Regions from separate parts of the Homo sapiens genome. Here region 1 is linked to region 2. Evidence: promoter capture Hi-C in 16 types of primary human blood cells and fetal thymus (Javierre and others, 2016). All regions are on one chromosome and are shown on one strand. The core of a region is centred on a gene start or on the middle of the fragment in contact, and the rest is flanking DNA. Distances in the headings are between cores, read along the strand shown. Region 1 holds the start of TCOF1 (treacle ribosome biogenesis factor 1). Region 2 holds the start of GRPEL2-AS1 (GRPEL2 antisense RNA 1).

What was found. Contacts are between HindIII fragments. The CHiCAGO score rates a contact against its expected background, and 5 or more counts as called.
Region 1: a contact is called between the fragment with the promoter of TCOF1 here and the fragment with the promoter of GRPEL2-AS1 in region 2, in 1 of 17 cell types (total CD8 T cells). The highest score is 7.0, in total CD8 T cells.

The regions. Positions count from the first base shown.
Region 1 is chr5:150,355,928-150,359,681 of GRCh38, forward strand. It overlaps TCOF1 (treacle ribosome biogenesis factor 1), which reads left to right and starts at 1,770. Exons shown (of 27, transcript NM_001371623.1): 1 at 1,770-1,927. The coding sequence starts at 1,820. It overlaps LOC105378226 (a long non-coding RNA gene), which reads right to left and starts at 1,493. Exons shown (of 4, transcript XR_944407.3): 1 at 579-1,493. RefSeq lists an enhancer at 788-957 and silencers at 1,558-1,897, 1,978-2,197. The HindIII fragment of the contact is 5,465 bases long and covers 1-3,754 here.
Region 2 is chr5:149,354,891-149,359,052 of GRCh38, forward strand. GRPEL2-AS1 (GRPEL2 antisense RNA 1) reads right to left here and starts at 2,752. Exons shown (of 2, transcript NR_132366.1): 1 at 2,635-2,752. It overlaps PCYOX1L (prenylcysteine oxidase 1 like), which reads left to right and starts at 3,156. Exons shown (of 6, transcript NM_024028.4): 1 at 3,156-3,266. The coding sequence starts at 3,179. RefSeq lists an enhancer at 2,916-3,210 and silencers at 2,936-2,985, 3,006-3,165, 3,186-3,395. The HindIII fragment of the contact is 3,429 bases long and covers 1-2,829 here.

The DNA.
Region 1 (3,754 bases), core at 520-3,019, 1.0 Mb after region 2:
TCCTTCCCTAACTCCCAAGAAAAAAATAGATCCCTCCTTCCTGTTATATGCTTTCACAATAATAGCACACACGCACACAGAGAGCGCTATTGTTCAGAGCTCCTCTAAGCATTTCTGCTGAGAATTCATTTACTCCTTATGACAACCCAGTGAGGTAGAAATTATAATTATCTCCATTGTACAGATAAAGAAACTGAGTCACAGTGACTTGCCCAAAGTCACCTAGTTAATGAGGCAAAGCCAGAATTTGAACCCAGGCAGTGTGACTCCAGTGCAGCTTTTAAACACTATATTATTACATAAGAAAACACTATCCTTTTCCTTCCTGCACTTACCCGCTGTTTGTAACACTGTATTGTATGACTATTAGTTTAGTATGTGTCTCCTCCGTTAGACTGTAAGCTCTATTGGAGTAGAGACAATTCCATCACTAGACTGTAAGCTCTATAGGAGTAGAGACTATTCCATCCCCAATGGTAGGTACTCAATAAATATTTGCTCAAGAAAATGGGAAATGTTGAATGTGTACAGACACATAACATTTTCCATTCAAGTTCAAGACAAAGATAACCACATACCTGGACCTCCTAGGGTTAGGGACTCCTGCGCCCGTAAGAAACATGCTGCCCTCAGATTCTCAATGGGTCGGTGAAGTTAAGAACAGCTCACTCTAACATTCTCCAGCCTACCTCACCTTTTCCCTGCCATCCTTCCCTCAACAACTACAACAGCCTCACATTTAGTATTAATGGTATGTGCTTTGGTTTTAGCAATCTTTTAAAAACACAAAACAGGGTCAACCTCCTCGGAAAAGCCAGTCAGAGACTATCTAATGCCCTCAGAGCAAAGTCCAAACTCTGTTGGGGGTGGGGGAGTTGTAGGCCTTGTCTACTTCTTCATCCTCATGTGCCCTCATTTGTTCCCTCTTCCCCACCTCACCCCACCCCACCTGGACAGCCCAGCAGCGCAGACTAGGGGTTCTGGGTTTAGGGTTCCCAGGCAATAGCAGGGTGTTTTCTCATGCCTAGACTCATGCAGTGCCCTCTGCCAGTCCTCTCCTTTGCACCCAGCAATTTCGGGTGTCTTTATGCCTCAGCTTAGATATCTCTCTGGGGTTCGGTGCTCCTCCTTGGGGCGCCCATAGGCTGCATCTGTCCCTGACAAGGCACACAAGATATTGAACTATAGTTGCTTGGTTACGGACAGTCGTCTCTGTGAGCTTTGAGGGCAACTGCCATGTATTATGCATCTTTTGAATCCCCCTAGCCTAGCCGGGTGCTAGCCCAAGTTAGGTGCTTATTACAGATTTGTTCAGTTAGCGAATGAATCAATGAATAAACTGGCAATTCGTGTCTGGTTCATGGGCACCAAAAACCGTGCGAAATGGATAAATGAGCAGGTAATGGCAGTACAAAGTTCGGATCTAGAGAAAGATCCAGATTAGGGAGTTCAGAGATGAGTAAAACGCAGACCCAGCCATCAGAGAATTAACAAGGAAGATAAATCTCTTCAAGAAGCCAGCCGGAAGGATTAAAAGAGAGTCGTCCAAGTCCCGGCCGGCCCCGGGGGCGGGTCCCTGTCTAGCCCCGCATGCTCCGCGCCAATGGGCGGTATTGTTGATCACGAGTCTCCGCCCCCTTCGCCTTGAGGGGCGGGGCCGGCCACTCCCGGAGAGGGGACTACGTTTCCCGGCGCGCCGCGCGGCCGGAGCGAAAGAGGAGCCGGAAGTGTGGCGCGCGAGGTCTAAGGGCGCGAGGGAAGTGGCGGGCGGGGACTAAGGCGGGGCGTGCAGGTAGCCGGCCGGCCGGGGGTCGCGGGTATGGCCGAGGCCAGGAAGCGGCGGGAGCTACTTCCCCTGATCTACCACCATCTGCTGCGGGCTGGCTATGTGCGTGCGGCGCGGGAAGTGAAGGAGCAGAGCGGCCAGGTAAGCGTTCGTGGGCCGTGTGCGAGGGCCGCGTGCAAGATGTGGAGATCAGCGGCCCGCGGCCCGCGCCCCGTCCCCAGGCGACCCGGCAGGCGCCCGGAGCCGGGTCCCGCAGTGCTCGACGGCGCGGCCAGGGGTACCGGAGGAGCCGCAATCTCTGCCTTCCCACTGCGACTTCAGTTCCCCTGGGCCTCACTTTCCTCATCCGGGCAGTGGGTTGGGCCAGAAAGTGTGCTCGCAGGGGCCGAACTTTGTAATTCCCGCTTCCCTTACCTCCACGCCCTTCCTGGTAGCGGGTATTTTAAGTTTCCTAAGTCTCCCGCCACGTGGCTAGGCTCTGCGCGGCCCCCCCTGGGGCAAGGAGGTTGCTGCGAGTCTCGGGGGTGGATTGCGACCAGCCCCTCGGGGGAGCGCCTGGAAAAGGGACCCTACAGCCTCTTAGTTGAGCTGGAACTCAGGCCTTTAGCGATTGTCTGTACTGAGACGGTCAGCTTTGGTACTCGAACTCGTGGTACAGTCATTTCTTACTTGATTAATTCAACTGTTAATCCGGTACTCAGGGTGCTTCCTGGTGTTCGAATGGTGAGCACCATCTCTCAGCCCTCCTGGAGCTTACACTCTAGTAAGGTAGACAAATCAAAGAATCACAAAAGTGACTATATGCTTAGCACCGCAATAAGTGTTAAGAATGAGAGGGATGGGCCGGGCACGGTAGCTCACGCCTGTAATCCCAGCACTTAGGGAGGCCGAGACTAGCGGATCACCTGAGGTCAGAAGTTCGAGACCAGCCTGGCCAACATGGTGAAACACCGTTTCTACTAAAAATACAAAAATTAGCTGGGCATGTTGGCGCACGCCTGTAATCCTGGCTACTCATGTGGCTGAGGCACAAGAATTGCTTGAACCCGGGAGGCAGAGGTTGCAATGAGTCAAGATCGTGCCACTGCACTCCAGCCTGGGCGATAAAGCGAGACTCTGCCTCAAAAAAAAAAGAGAGATGGATGGCAGATTGCCCTGGTCAGGAATAGCTGAGGTGTAAATGCCTTGTGGTGGGAGGGAACTTGTGTACACACTGGCCTGGAGAAAGTCCACTCTCTTGAGCCCAGGAATTTGAGGATACAGTATGAGCCATGATCATGCCACTGCACTCCAGCCTGGGCAACAGAGCAAGACACTGTCTCAAAAAAAAATTTTTTTTAAGTCCATAGCAGGCCAGGTACGGTAGCTCACGCCTGTAATCCCAGCACTTTGGGAGGCCGAGGCAGGCGGATCACTTGAGGCCAGGAGTTCAAAACCAGCCTGACCGACATGGTGAAACCCTGTCTCTACTAAAAATGCAAAAATTAGCCATGCATGGTGGCATGCACCTGTAGTCCCAGTTACTCGGGAGGCTGAGTCAGGAGAATCACTTGAACCCAGGAGGCAGAGGTTGCACTGAGCTGAGACTGAGCCACTGCACTCCATCCTGGGTGACAAGGCGAGACTCCATCTCAAAAAAAAAAAAAACGTCCATAGTGGCTGAAGTGTGAAGTACAAGGGCCAGATGCCCCTGGGGAGATGGAGGCAGGGGCTGGCTGGAGTGGTCTGGTGGGCAGTTTGATCTTCCTTGGAAGAGCAGTGGTAAACCAATGGAGAGTTTTGAACTGGTGAGACAGTATCCTAAGTAGTCAGATCCCTTTGCCCTGTGGTGTAGGCTCTGCTCCTAATGCTTGCTCTCAGAACCTCCTGGAGGGACTAAAGGGTGATGGGCCCTAAGACGTTATGTATGCTTTTCCCAGTTTCTCTGAACCTCACTTGCTCTTCCTACCGCAGCTATGGTACTTCACA
Region 2 (4,162 bases), core at 1,502-4,001:
GAGTGCAATGGCGCGATCTCAGCTCAGCGCAACCTCCGCCTCCCAGGTTCAAGCAATTCTCCTGCCTCAGCCTCCCGAGTAGCTGGGATTACAGGCACCTGCCACCACGCCTAATTTTTTGTATTTTGAGTAGAGACAGTTTCACCACGTTGGCCAGGCTGGTCTTGAACTCCTGACTTCAGGCGATCCACCTGCCTCGGCTTCCCAAAGTGCTGGGCTCACAGGCCTGAGCCACTGTTCCCAGCCCTATTTCTGCCTTCTTTTCTGGCATTGACTTGTTTTCTTGGGTTCGCCTTTTGGTTCTAGGTGTCTTATTTCCTTTGACTACTGCTGACTATTCTCCTAACCAGATTACAGACACTTGGCCTTGTTCTGACCTTCAGCTTCCCCATGTCCTTCCCACCTTGTGACTGCCTGGCCTTGTCTTTACCTCTGCTTCTCAGCTAGCTTCCATATACCTAGACTCCTGGCTGAATGGCCCTCTGTTGGGCCAGCCTTCCCTGGGATTTGGTCTTGCGTTTTCATTATCTTTCCAATACTGTCTGTACACTGTAGCTCCATAAACCATGTGTCCCATATTCCCAGTGCTAGTCAGTGAGTATATTCTTATTCCTATCCACTCAGATGTCCATGCTCTCAAGTTCACTGTAGTTTTAAAACATGGCTCCAGAATTTCTTGACACCTTTGTTGAGTAGGGCCCATGTCCATTCTTGAGTTTCCTTGGAGCTTTGTGATTGCTTGACCAATAGAATACAGTGGAAGTGACACTGCCATTTTCTGGACCCAGATCTTAAGAAACTGGTATCCCCACTTCCTGTCTTGGGATGCTCACCCCTGGAACCTTACCATCGTGCCAAGAGCAAACTGAAGTAGCCTGTGGAATGGAACTGAGGGCCCTGGTTGAGCTTTCAGCTGAGCCAGCACTGTCTTGCCAGCCAGTGAGCCATCTTGAAGGTGGATCCTCCCACACCCAGTGGAGCAGCCCCAAATGATACCACATGGAACAGATGAGCTGATCTCACTGAGTCCTGCCTGAGGTGTAGTGTGAGCAAAACAGATGACTGTTACTTTAAGCCACTACATTTTTTAATGGTTTGTTACACAACAGCAGATAAAATGATACAGTCACCCCACTGCATTCCCAGTCTGGCACCTTTGTGCCACAAGAATTGTGCCTACTTGCTTTTCCCTTATCAGCTCTTTCGAACCTCTCTTACAATGTTGATGAGCGCACACATTGTCAATGGGCTAGTAGGGTTGGAAGGGCTTCCTAACAGAAAAAAACAGCTCTAGATTTAAGAGTTACAAAGGACCCTAAAATTACAAGCAAAGTATAGTCAAGAAGATGAATTTGAACACTAACATGATTTACCCTACAAAAAAATGACAAGAATCAGAATAAGTTCATAAGAGAATTTGGCACATAGTGGTCAATGAGTGCTTGTTTTAAAAACTGTTTAAGGGAGTATCTTGAACCTTTGGAAATGAACTTAAAAGGTGTTGCATCCTGACACAAACATTGCCAAAAAAAAAAGTTTAAGATTATGACAAATGCATGATTATTCATCTACCAGTTTACTAGTAGTAATCCAGTTTGGCCCAAGTAAATTAAGTCTCAGTGCTGAGTTAGAACCCCAGCTATAAGCTCTTTCACCATTCTCTGAATCACTTCAGTTTTTTGTTTTTGTTTTTGTTTGAGTCAGAGTCTCGCTCTGTCACCCACGGTGGAGTGCAGTGGTACAATCTCGGCTCACTGCAACATGTGCCTCCCAGGTTCAAGCGATTCTCCTGCCCCAGCCTCCCGAGTAGCTGGGATTACAGGCGCACACCACCAAGCCCAGCTAATTTTTGCATTTTAGCAGAGATGAGGTTTCACCATGATGGCCGAGCTGGTCTCGAACTCCTGACCTCAAGTGATCTGCCCACCTCGGCCTCCCAAACTGCTGGGATTACAGGCATGAGCCACTGTGCCCGGCCCAGTTTCTTATTTTAGCCATAATCTCACTGAGTAAATATGGATTTCATTTATTTTTATATATTTATTTATTTTTAAAGACAGGGACTCTTGTCACTCAGGCTGGAGTGCAGTGGCACAATCATAGAACACTGTAACCTCAAACTACCGGTCTCAAGCCTCCCACCTCTGCCTCCTGAATAGCTAGGACTACAGGTGTGCACCACCACTCCTGGCGAATTTTTTTTTTTTAAGAGACGGGGTCTCAGAGTCTCATTATGTTGCCCAGGCTGGTCTCAAACTGCTGGCCTAAGCGATCCTCCCGCCTGACCTTCCAAAATGCTGGGATTACAGGCTTGAGCCACCCCCAGCCTCCGGATTTTCTTTATTCTGAAACTCATCCCTAACTTTATTTTCTGCCAGAGGAAGTCTGTTTTTCACAGCGTGATAAACTAGCAAGTCTGAGCTGCTGCTCTTGTCTTCTTAGAGGATGAAAATGGGAGTTTATCCCTCCTTTTCTCCTTTCTGAAAAGAGAGTAGATGAAACCTTCCCCCGCCTTTTGGTTTTTAGGAAGCAGAAAGCAGAGATATTAACTATATAAAAACTGCAAACACATAAATAACAGCAGTATAGAAAGCATAGGGCTTGTGTCAGCATATGAATGAGGTAGCGTCTTACCACCCTGGCCGCATGCTTGGTCAGCAATTTCCAGCACTTGCAGACACTGCAAAAGGCTTCCCTTATCTCATAAGATGGTTACAACCACCTAGAAAGGTGGAGCAGGATTCTTCGTCTGTGTTATAATAGAGGAAACAGACACAGAGAAGATACAGAGCTAATAACGCAGAGGCTGGACATAACCGAGGTCTTCAAAGCTTCACTTTGGTCTGTTTCATCCCTCTGCCGCAGCTGGGCCCTGGTCCTGATGCTGAGGACCCGAAGCGGGCACACCTGCGCCGGGCAAGAATGAACCCAGCCAATGAGGAGCCCGCATGCGGGGGGCGGGGCGGAACGGGGAAGCTGCCAATGAGAGAGCCTACCCCGAGAGAGATGGAGCTAATGAGGGCCTCGTGCTGGAGAGGGACGGCGGCTTGGCCAATGCGGAGCTGGGTCTGGCGCGGCAGGAAGGCGGGACTGCCAGTGGGGCGCCGGGGCGGGGCGGAGAGCCGAGCGCCAACCCGCTAGCGCCTGAATCCGGCGTGCTGCCCGCTCGCCGCCCGCCATGGCCCGCGCAGCCCCGCTGCTCGCCGCGTTGACCGCGCTCCTCGCCGCCGCCGCTGCTGGCGGAGATGCCCCGCCGGGCAAAATCGGTGCGGGAAGGACGCGGTGGGGTTCCCAGCTGGGGAGGGCCGGCGGGTAAAGGGTTCTCAGTTCTCAGCTAGGTGGGGTATAGGAGGGCGGCTGGGTGAGGGAGGGGTCCTCGGAAAAGGAGCTGGGTGGAGGAGAGGCGCCGAAGGGGACGCGGCAGGGAAGGTCCTGATGGGGCCGGGGCATGGCATGTGAAGAGGGCCACCTAGGACGGAAAAGAGGCCTGGGCAGGACTGGCCGCGGATCTCACCGGGAGGTCCAGGGTCGCTGAGCATCTGCCATGGTCCTGGCTGTTGGCTAGGCGCCCGGGTGACAGAGGACAGAGAGGCTGGGCGATGGCATTCACAGAGGTTGGTTGAGGGCTCTCTGTGTAGCAGACGTGGTGCTGTAGTTCCTGCTGGGGTAGAGCCCTCACAGTACAGGGAAGTCCGTGCTGAGCTGAGGAAGTACGGTGCATGCAGAGGAGGGGCGCTTCACCCTGTCTTTGCGGCCCTGGGAGGGCTTCCTGGAAGTAACATCTAAGCCAAACCACCCCCAGGTCGATAGGAGACAGTCCTGGCAGAGACAGAACACTAGGTCCGCTGGAGATTTGCTGACAGAACGGGGAACTTTTAACAACAGTCTTTTTGTTTATTGTGTGTGTGGTTTCCCCAATACTTTATTTTGAAAATGTTCAGATGTACAGCAAGAATTTTATAGTGGTCATCTGTATACCCACCACCTACATTCTGCCATTAACTGCTGCTATACTTGCTGTGTCACATAACTATCACGCACTGTTCTAGACATCCACGAATCCAGCCTACATTTTGATGCATCTCCAAATAAATTGCAGACATCAGGACACCTCACTAAATACGTCATCGTGCATATCATTGACTAGAGTGTCATATGTGTT